Regions from separate parts of the Homo sapiens genome. Here all the other regions are linked to region 1. Evidence: promoter capture Hi-C in human tissues and cell types (Jung and others, 2019). All regions are on one chromosome and are shown on one strand. The core of a region is centred on a gene start or on the middle of the fragment in contact, and the rest is flanking DNA. Distances in the headings are between cores, read along the strand shown. Region 1 holds the start of BEND4 (BEN domain containing 4). Region 2 has its middle 81 kb from the start of BEND4. Region 3 overlaps SLC30A9 (solute carrier family 30 member 9).

Region 1 (3,694 bases), core at 557-3,056:
CGGGAGGGGCAGGACCCCGCGGCGCGGCAGCGTGCCACGGACGGGGACGAGGGGATGGCGGGGACGACGACGTGGGCGGTGGGAGCAGAGTGCCTGCGACTCCCGGGGCAGGAAGGAGGGGCGGGATGGTTCCCCGCGCCCGAAATCCACGGCGTGGCGGACGCGGAGGAGCCCCGAGTCTCACAACCAAGGGGTGGGAAGGAAAAGGGACAGAGCGAGACAGAGCGCCCCCGAGAAACACAGGCGCACAAAAAAAGACAGAAGGAAAAACGGAACTGAGAGCCAGCCAGCATGGACTGCGACAGCGTGAGAGTGCATCAAAGAGGTGGCGAAGAAAGCACTAGAAGGCAAAGGAGAAGTGGAGAGAAGAAGAAACAAATGGAGGAAGAAGGAGAAAGGGAAAAAGCAGACGGAAAAAGTGAAGTAGTACGAGGGCGTCCCAGCGGGGCGGCCCGAGAAGCTCCAGCTTCTTCCCGAGCGGCCGCCGCTATCCCCCGGGGGGGCGTCTGGCCCCACTCCGGACCACGCCCGAGCGATCCTGGTCGCCGACTGCCACAGCCGTGCTTCCCGGCGCGGGATCCAAGCCGCGGAGCCACCTGTTAGGCGCGCGCCGTCGGAAGCCCAGGCGCGGCGGCGCTGGAGAATCCTCTCGAAGTTTCCGGGTGCGCGGGGAGGCCCCAGGTGCGCCCCGACATCCCGACACGGCCCAGCACGGGTAAGTGTCGGCGGCCCCCCGCTTCTCCTTCCTGGGTCCCCTCCCGCTGCCCCCGGCCGTGGCGGGAAGGAAAGTTGTGCGGAGAGTTGGTACCTGCGCTGAGCTCCAGGCTGGCGCTGTCGCTACCCGTGCCGCCGGTGCCGGCGGCCGCCGCCGCGCCTGGGCCATACCTGACGACAGCGGCGAACGAAGACGACGAGGAGGCGGCGGGGGACGCGGGCGGCGGCTGCGCCGGAGTCCTCAAGTGGCCCTGGGATGTGGCGGGCGTGCAGGACGGCGACGACGACGAAGCGGCGGCGGCGGCCCGGCCGGGCCCGGGGGGGTAGGAGCTCTGCGCCTGGAACTGCTGCGGCGGCGGCTCGCTGCTGCTGATGGAGACGGCGGCGTGCGGCGCGAAGGGCGGCGGGGGCGGCGGGGGCGCCCGCACGTGCGGCAGCTCCACCAGGGTGGGTCGCTCGTAGCGCTTGGCCAGCGCCGGTCTCTTGCTGGGGAACGTCTTGAGGACGCTGTAGGGGCTGCGCTGCTTGTAGATTTTGGGGACGCTGGGCCCCTCCTCTGCCGGCTGCATCTCTTCCTCCATCCGGCGCCTCGGGGCCGGTCCCTCGGAGCACGTCCCCTCCCCGCCGGGCGCCGGGCTCCGAGGGTGCCTCCGCCGCCTGCCCGCCGGGTCTGCCCTGGTGCGCGCGTGTGGGAGGGTGTGTGTCTGTGCCGTGGCCGCCGCCGCCGCCGCCTGTCGCTGAGGCTGGCATCGCCGAGCCCCCGCGCGGGGGGCTGCCGCCCGAGCTCCTGATTGACAGGCTGCCTCGCCAATGCCTGGAGGGAGAAAGGAGGTAAAGAGCAAGTGTTTAGGGTAATATCTGCTAATGATAATGGGGGCGGGGCGGGGCCTGGCGCCGCAGCCGCCCGCGGGGTCTGCCTGGCGGCTCCGCGCCTCCGACGGGGAGCGGGGGAAGGGGGAAAGCGAGGACCTGGAGGACGCCCGGGAACTGGTGAAGAAGGTGGGGATCCGGGATCTGGCTACGGCGAGACTTTAGAGACCCAGATGTGGACTCGAGGCTTCTGCGGCTGCGGGCGGGGTCCGGCTTCCGAAACGAGCTCGTGGCGCCCCCTGCATGACCCCAAACTCTCGGGGTTGCACAGAGGAGGGGCTAGTCGTTGGGGCGGGGTCGTCAGAGTACGTGTGTATTACAGCAAGTTCTTCTACCAATCGGGAATTGCTCTCCGATCCTTCTGAAAAGAACCTCTTGAAGATCTTGGCCCGGGTGGTCGCGCGGTGTTTACGGGGCTTTGGGGTCCTGCTTTCCCCGAGCATCGCGGCCTCTGAGCTCATGCGGAACATAAAAGCTCGCAAGGCGTAGAACTTTTTCACGTTTTCATTTGTTTCCCGTAGGGGCCCCGAGAACGTGCATGACACCATGATTTCCCCCCCATTATAAAGATGAGAAAACCGAGGCTCTGAGAGGTTGAAGGGAATTGCCCAAAGTCAGACACTCGGGAGTGTGCGGCTGTGTTGCACTGACGCATCCAGGTTATTTGAAGTCAACTCCTCACTTCCCATAGCCAGTAGCCTCTGTGCAATTGAGTGGGGAAATGTCCTGATACCTCCCTTTGAGGTGATGATTACTTTCAACAGTGTCATTTTTAATATATGTATATGTACTTGCAAGCCCAGGGAAACACGAGAACTCACTCCTTGCATTGTTTTACTCACTGCAACTGGCGCCATCCGGCGAGGGTCTGGAGGGTGCCCAATTTCAGTAGCCGTTTGAATGAGAGATCTCAGTCGTTGGGAGGAAGATCCTCCATGGGATGCAGATGTCCTGGTCTCTCCCAGCCACTTTTTGGGGCAGAGGGTCCATTGCTCCCTATCCCAAATCACCCCTCTTCTAGGCCAACCAGCATACCCTGCCCCAGGTTTGCTTTTCAGCCTTCCTTTTTCGTTCTCCAGGTCAGAGTTCTGGATGCTCCTTGATGTAGGACCCTCATCTCTGCACTCTGAAGTTTGTTTCCTTTTCAGAGCCTTCCTTTTATTCTTAGGAAGGTGACCCATTTTCTTCTGGGGGTTCACATCTTTTGGCCTCTCTTTCCCTGGTCTCCTTCCCTTTGGAAGCTTTTTCTCTCTGCCTTGCTGGTTCAGCTTCTGTATTATTCCCCCCTAGATTGTCTCCCTCTCTCCTGCAGCTTCCTCAGATGGTGCTGTGTCCCCCCCCCAATCCATTTATTAGAGATGAAATAAATAATGCCATAAATATAAGTATTTGGGAGTCCAGGAACTGTCAGGGCTGATTAGGGCATAGAGGACATTTTCTTTCTCATTATGCAAAAGCATTTCATGGGGAAATAAAAGAGGTTTCATTGTAACTCATGCATGTCATATTTCAAGGAATTCAAGATATTAATCATATTTAACATTATTTGCAATGTTTCTCCCTGGCTTCTGAAAACTGCTAAATGAGGACACGTGGATCACTAGGAAAAGGAGACAAGCATGAGAGGGACAGTTAAGAAATAATGAAATGCTGGTGAAAGAGAAAGAGAATGAGATGCCAGGGAGATGTTTCTTAGGCACGTAAGTGAGAAATGGGGGAGCTACTTCTGAGACGTGAGACAGCTGAAATTGAATGATATACTGGAGGAAATAAATGATAACAAACCTCCCCACACTTTCCTTTCTATAAAGCAGTTCTGAATTTTGCATTGAAATGTTTTCCTCCCACTTTACTCCCAGATAATTTGCCAATAAGTCCTGGCTTTTGAAAAGAAATTGGGGTGGTGGCAGTGTGGGGAGTTAAGAGGAGAGAAATCTTTTAGTTCTTCTGAAGAAGTAATTTCCTGTACCTGGGGGCTTCCTCTTCTATGTAGTTTTAAATGTATATCCTCCTCACCACTTAAACACCTTAAGAGACTGGGAACAATACTTCTATTGTATATTTTCTATTGAAAAGGACATGCTGTCCTTTACATCAAAAAGTGATTATT
Region 2 (3,694 bases), core at 460-2,959, 81 kb after region 1:
TGCTATTTCATGTATGTATTTTCATTTTTCCTTACAACAATCTTACGATGTTGGCAGTATTATTGTTTCCTTTCTAGAGATTGGTAGACGGAGACCCAAGGGATTAAGTATGTTGTCCAAATCACATAGCTGAGAAGTTGTGGAAAAGTCCCCTGCCCCTACGCTTATACCTCTCAAATCCTTTTTTCCCACTAGAAAAAATTAGATTAGCTATAAAGAATTGGAATGAAAGGGTGCCGGGAACTTGATTGTGACATGGAGGAATTTTCCTTTCCTTCCCCTTTGCCTTGACTTTCCTCTGCTACAGTAGACTATTCCCTGAACCAGCTTCCAAAAGAAAATGAAGGACTGATGGGGCCACTGAGCCCAGAAGGTCGGGGAGGAAGGGAGAGACTTCTGGCTGTGAGTAGCGAAGGGAGCCGGTACCTTTTGGCTTCATACTCTTTCTAATATGAAGAACATGAAATCTGTTTTGGGTTTAAGAAAAATCTTAAGAAAATTTTCTGCTTTTAAAGAAGGGATAGTGAATTAGGGTGAAAAATATCTTCCTAACCCAATTATGTCAACAATGTTTAGGAAACAATATGGATAATGCACTGGTGGGTAATCAAGAGTGAATATTGCATAAATCACCGGAATGATCATCATTTCTTAAATTTCAAAAAGGAGACAGGAGAGAACATTCCTTTTTTTTTTTGAGACAGTCTCACTCTGTCTCCCAGGATGGAGTGCGGTGGCGCGATCTCGGCTCACTGCAAGCTCCGCCTCCCGGGTTCACGCCATTCTCCTCCCTCAGCCTCCCGAGTAGCTGGGACTATAGGCGCCTGCCACCACGCCCAGCTAATTTTTTGTATTTTTATTAGAGACAGGGTTTCACCGTGTTAGCCAGGATGGTCTCGATCTCCTGACCTCATGATCCGCCCGCCTCAGCCTCCCAAAGTGCTGGGATTACAGGCGTGAGCCACCGCGCCCGGCTATCTTAGTGAACACAGAAATATTGGCTCACAGGATTCTCCCCATTGCATGATGTTTTTGCAGTCAGAAAACACCCTTTGTGTAAAGGAAACTGGGGGTGGGGTAGGAGAGGAATATGCTGACCCAAGACCTTTCTAAATTAATGGATGAAAAGGAGAAAGAAAGCATGAGAGGAAAACCTACTGGGAGAAAGCTTAGGTCTGTGCAGAAAGAAACACAATGGCACCGTTAGACGTATCTGAATGATATCTAATGTTGAGGATGCATTTATCTACAGTCTGACAGTGTCCACAGAGCACAAGGCAAGGGAAGCCAACTCACTTGTCATGACACTCTTGTTCTATGCTCTACCACATTGCCTTTGAAGTCTAAAGAAGATTCCGGCTGGGCACGGTGGCTCACGCCTGTAATCCCAGGACTTTGGTAGGCCCAGGCGGGTGGATCACCTGAGGTCAGGATTTCGAGACCAGCCTGGCCAACATGGTGAAACCCCATCTCTACTAAAAATACAAAAATTAGCTGGATATGGTGGCGCACCCCTGTAATCCCAGCTACTCAGGAGGCGGAGGCAGGAAAATCTCTTGAACCCAGGAGGTGGAGGTTGCAGTGAGCGGAAATCACACTGCTGCACTCCAGCCTGGGCAACAGAGCGAGAGTCTGTCTCCAAAAAGAAAAAAGAAGAAGATTCCTCTGGTCCCAAACTAAGCCAGCACTTAATAGTTGCAGCAGACATTGCTAATGTTTCCAGTTCTCCCCTCCTAAAACATACAGAGGACTGTGATTTCCTGCCCCTCCACTAGTTGGATGGCACGACGTGACTCGTTCTAGCCAACAGGCTGGGAATAAAAATGACGTGTGTCACCTCTGGGGAAAGCATTTAAGAGCTGGTATGTTACCTTCCATCTTATTTTCCCCACCATGGTGAACCAGGAAGGATCATGCAGGGATGGAGACGCCCGAGATTGAAGCCTGGAATGGTGAGCCACCACATGGAGGACGAGTGTCCCCAAGAACAACCTGAGCCTGTTCTGAAGCTGGGGTTGAGGTACTTACAATTCCCGTGTCAGGATCATTTAGAGGCAACCAGAATTTCACCTCTTCCCCATGAAGATGGCTTCCTCTTAGTAGGGAGTCTGATATGAGGCTGAAATGGATTTAGTGTGAACAACAAGTAAACGATTGTGGTGTCAACACCTCGAGATTATTTGATGATGATGCCCAGCCTAATTTAGCATATCTTGACTAATACCAGTATGTGGGTAAATACACGCTTACATTCCCAGAGAAAGTCAAGAGGAATGAACAAAATGTGCTGTTGGTTCTCATTCTAATTCTATTATATCTTCCAATATAGACAAATTACATAGAGAATAGGAGTTCAGGCCTGGCGCAGTGGCTCACACCTGTAATTACAGCACTTTGGGAGGCCGAGGCAGGCGGATCATGTGAGGTCAGGAGTTTGAGACCAGCCTGGCCAACATGGAGAAACCCTGTCTCTACTAAAAGTACAAAAAAAATCAGCCAGGCCTGGTGGTGCACACCTGTAATCCCAGCTACTTGGGAGGCTGAGGCACAAGAATAGCTTGAACCCAGGAGGCGGAGGTTGCAGTGACCCATGATCATGCCACTGTACTCCAGCCTAGGCGACAGAGTGAGACTATGTCTCAAAAAAAAAAAAAAAAAAAAAAGAGAGAGAATAGGAGTTCAAGGGTGACTCCTCTTCTCTGCCTGTCCCCACCAGCTACTCAACTGGGGCACTTGTAACCTTGGCTCTTAGGGACCCCTTGTGGTTGCCTCTTAGGTCACTGCTCACACTCAATCTCATTGGCACTCAATGTTCAAGCTCCCCTTACCCAGAGTATGACAGCATGTCCTTCCCAGCCCTTGCTGTGCGCTGTCAGCCATTCCATTTTGTTCTGAGGATAGGGTGGAAGAACTTACGATTCCTGTGTCAGGATCATGGATAGGACAACCAGAATTATCCCCCTGTGAAGATAGCTTCCTCTTAGCATGGGATCTGAGAGCTTGAGGCTGAAAGAATCTAGTATTCTGGATTGTCTACATTGTGTCTCCGGAAGAGGGGTTCGTGTGTATGAGAGGTAGTAAGAGGAAGGACAGCCCACCTTTCCCACCACACTGAAAGACAAGAAAATAAGACTTATATTTGCATCTCTGGCAGGCCCCTGTGGACACCCAGTAAATGCCGGTAATGATGGCGCGTGACTTCTCATTTACACGGTCTCTTTTAGTTTCTGCCCTAACCTGAATGTGGTGTCAAGGGAACTATTAACGGCTGCTATTCAGGGACATGTGACTTGGTATTTATATATTACCTGCCCACTTCATAAAATGTTAATGAATGTTTGCAAAGCTCTTTGAAATACTCTGGTGAAAGGTGCAACATTAAGTGAAAAATATTATTATTATTATTAGAAGGTAATAGACAGCTTTGAGTGATTGGTCATAAGAATAATTGACATAGCATTAAAAGAAGTGCCAGAAATCATCCAGATGGATTCAGCTTCTCCAGCCCCATCAGCCCCCACATTACATATATTACACTGTTTCCCTGACACCCATTCTAATAACCATATAATTCACACATTAAATCACCACTTCTAGGGAAAGGTTGAGCTCACTCATAGCTCTGTTGATAGTGACACTGAGAGGGTATTAAATGTTGAAAGGTCTAAAAGGGAGCAGAAGTGCTCTTAGATGG
Region 3 (3,694 bases), core at 763-3,262, 80 kb before region 1:
TGGATTCCTCGTCTTCAGAACGTTTTAGTCTGTAACTTTTCAGAATTATAATCCTGGAAGTAAGAAAGAATACACTTAGGAAACTCCTTCTAAGTTTCCTTTTAAATTTTCTATACTTCTAATTTTTAGAGTAAGGAAGAGTCAAGTTGATATAATGAGAATGGAAGTTTGCAAAGTAGTTGTCTTCTTAGTGGAAATACTTAATATGGAACCTGTAGAGTTGCCTTATATTCGCATTGCAATTACAAATTGAATATATTAAATTTAAAAAGATTTTTGTTCATTGGGCAATGATTACCAAATTAAATATAATTTATATTTACTTTGAAAATAGACTTTGTTTTAGCTTATTTTAAGTATTTTTCTTATAATCTTTATCTTTTAAATTATGTAAAACTAAAGAACTGGAGACTTAGGAGATAATCAGCAGAAGAGATACAGAATTCTAATAGTGCTTTTCAGTGAAATTCTAGCAGCATTGTGGTTTTATAATGAAATAAAAGAACAAACCTTTAAAAACCCAGTTTTCTACTAACTCGCTCTATATTTTTTCAAACTTTAAAATAAGATTTTTTTGTGTATTGTACTTGAAATCTTTAAGTTAAATCTTTTTAAAATGACCCGTATATCTGAATTAGTAAAATATATTAATGATTACTAGATTTATATTCTATGCCCTATATGTTTAATCTTGAAAAGTAACTATCTTATTGGAACAAGATTAGAAAATGAGAGATGGGCACAGTGGCACATGCCTATAGTTCCAGCTACTTGGGAAGCTGAGGCAGGAGGATCACTTGAGGCCACGAGTTTGAGGCTAGTGTGCAATGATCATGTCTGTGAATAGCCACTCACTGTACTATATTCTGGGCAGCATAGCAAAACCCTGTCTCAAAAAAAAAAAAAAAAAGATTAGAAGTTGAGCATTATGAAAGTCAGTATTAGAGTTATTAACATAATGTGAGATAATCCAAATTAATATCCTTTCTTTGTGATGTTTTTGTCTGGTTTTGGTATTAAGATAATACTGGCTTCAGAGAATGAGTTGGGAAATGTTCTCTCCTATTTTTTTGGAAGAGTTTGTGAATAATTGGTGTTAGCTTCTTTAAATGGTAGAATTCAAGTATCTGGATATGAGCTTTGCTGTGTGGGTAGTTTTTTGATTAGTAATTATATCTCTTGTTATGGATCTGTTCAGATTGTCTGTTTCTTCTTGACTTAGTTTAAGTAGCTTGTATTCTAGGAATTTGTCTTTTACTTCTAATTTACCTAATTTGTTGGTATACAGCTATTTATAATATTCCTTTGTAATCCATTTTATTTCTTTAGTGTTGGTACAAATGTCTCATCTTTCATTTCTGTAATTTGAATCTCTCCTTTTCTTGGTCAGTGTAGCTAAAGGTTTGTTCATTTTCTTGATCTTTCTAAAGAACCAGCTTTTGGTTTAATTGACTTTCTCTGTTGTTTTTCTATTTTCTTTTTCATGACTTTCTCCTTTAATCTTTATTATTTTTTTCCTTCTGCGTGCTTTCAGTTTAGTTTGCTCTTTTTCCACTGTCTTAAGGTTAAGCTTTTAATTTGATGTTTCTTCTTTTTTAAAATAGACAATTACAGCTACAAATTTTCCTTTAAGTATTGCTTTCTCTGCATTCCACACATTTCCATATATTGTGCCATTTTCATTATCTAATAGTATTTTCTAATTTCTTTTTTTATTCTTTTCAGTTATTTAGGGGAGTATGTCACTTAATTTTTACGTATTTGTGAGTTGCACAGATTTCTTTCCATTATTGATTTATTATTTTGTTCTATTGTGGTCAAAGAATATGTTTTATATTAGTTCTGTCCTTTTAAATTTACCAAGGTTTGTTTTATGGCCTTACATATAGTCTTGGATAATATTCATGTGCACTTGAGAAGAATGTATATTCTGCTGTTGTTGTAGAGTGTTCTGTAGATGTTTGTTAGGTTTAATTGGTTTATAGTGACTTCAATTTCCCTAATTATCTTCTTGCTCTATTGTTCTATCCTTTTTTTTTTTTTTTTTTTAGATGGAGTTTTGTTCTTGTTGCCCAGGCTGGAGTGCAGTGGCACGATCTTGGCTCACTGGAACCTCCGCCTCCCAGATTCAAGTGATTCTCCTGCCTTACCCTCCCAAGTAGCTGGGATTACAGGTGCTCACCACCATGACCAGCTAATTTTTGTATTTTTAGTAGAGACGAGGTTTCACCACTGGCCATGTTGGCCAGGCTGGTCTCAAACTCCTGAGAGACGAGGTTTCATCACTGGCCATGTTGGCCAGGCTGGTCTCAAACTCCTGACCTCAGGTGATCCACCCGCCTCGGTCTCCCAAAGTGCTAGGTGTGAGCACCGTGCCCGGCCTCTGTATCCGTTACTGAAAGTATCGAAGTCTCTAGTTATTGTTGTTGTATTAGCTCTTCCTCCCTTCATTTCTTCTTGGTTTTGGCATCATATATTTTGGTGCTCTGTTGTTGCTACATACATGTTTATAATTTTGTATATATTGTTTAATAAGTAATGTCTAAAAAAGAGCTATAAACTGAAAGACTGGCAAATTCGAAATTTTGTGGAAGAGTGAATATCTGTGGATTCAATTATTGGAAAAAATACGTTAGTAATCCAGAAAATTCATACAATTTTTTTAAACAGTATATTAGTTACCTACTGCTGTGTGACAAATTGGCCCAAAACTTAGTGGTTTAAACAACATATTACCATCTTACAGTTTCTGTGAGTCAGGAATCAGGGCACAGCTTATCTGGGTCTTCGACTTCAGGGTTTCTCATAGACTGTAATCAAGGTGTTGACTGGGATTATAGTCATCTCCTGGGGAAGGGGCTGCTTCTAACCTTACTCACATGATTGTTCGCAAGATTTAGCTCCTTGCCAAATGGGCCTCTTCAACATGGCAGCTTGCTTAATCAAAGCGTGCAAATTGATAAGGCAATAGAGAGCGAGTGTGAACAAGACAAAAGTCACAGGTTAGTCACCTGGTCTTGGAAATGACATCTCATCACTTTGCCATATTTGGTAGTTATAGCCCACATTCAGTGAGAGGAGATCACACAAGGGCTTGCGTATAGGTGGCAGGGATTGATCATATGGGAGCCCTCCAAACAGTTTTCTGTCTGTAGTTAGTTATATGTAAGAACATAAGGAAAAAGTATATCTAAATATATTTATTAGTTGCTACTCACATACCAGCCAAATAATGAAATGTGTTTATACTCTGTGAAGACTAAAGTAGAAATGATTTTTGAAAATGAATAAATATGTTCTGTGAGTTACCAGGAGAGAAAAAAAAAAGAATAAATGATATAGCCTTTTGCCAATCTGAAAAAGTTTTGTTTTAACTTGAGCACATGTAACTATAAATATTAAAACATTAATTCTTATTTCATCCTTGATGGTTGATTAAAATATAGCTTCCTTATATGGATAAAAAATTTTGGACTCAGTGTTTAGTAACCTGCTCAGGATCCCTCAGAAATTAGGGTCTAATGTTGTAAGAATACTTGGAGTCTTACGTAGGCTTGTTTTTCTAGTAAATCTCCATGTCCTCAGAATTCAGAGTGTTTTGTTATTTCTTATATGTGCTGTACAGAAAAGATCTTACAGTGATCACTGTAGAAAGAAGAGAATTTCTCAGCAGTTTCTAGGGAAGATTGTTTAC

The links. The method cuts DNA at HindIII sites, captures the fragments that hold promoters and counts their contacts. A contact is called where the count stands out against the background at its distance.
Region 2: a contact is called between a fragment that was not itself captured here and the fragment with the promoter of BEND4 in region 1, in 2 of the 25 tissues and cell types used here (heart left ventricle and mesendoderm cells).
Region 3: a fragment that was not itself captured here is called in contact with the fragment with the promoter of BEND4 in region 1 in 2 of the 25 tissues and cell types used here (lymphoblastoid cells and mesendoderm cells).

The regions. Positions count from the first base shown.
Region 1 is chr4:42,150,849-42,154,542 of GRCh38, forward strand. It overlaps BEND4 (BEN domain containing 4), which reads right to left and starts at 1,807. Exons shown (of 6, transcript NM_207406.4): 1 at 1,684-1,807; 2 at 809-1,528. The coding sequence starts at 1,295. RefSeq lists an enhancer at 281-1,124 and silencers at 890-979, 1,180-1,499. The HindIII fragment of the contact is 6,033 bases long and covers 1-3,694 here.
Region 2 is chr4:42,232,257-42,235,950 of GRCh38, forward strand. No RefSeq gene overlaps it. Among named protein-coding and RNA genes, the nearest start is that of BEND4, 81 kb to the left of the region's middle. The HindIII fragment of the contact is 5,397 bases long and covers 1-3,694 here.
Region 3 is chr4:42,070,783-42,074,476 of GRCh38, forward strand. All of the region lies in intron 15 of SLC30A9 (solute carrier family 30 member 9), which reads left to right. Among named protein-coding and RNA genes, the nearest start is that of BEND4, 80 kb to the right of the region's middle. The HindIII fragment of the contact is 7,764 bases long and covers 1-3,694 here.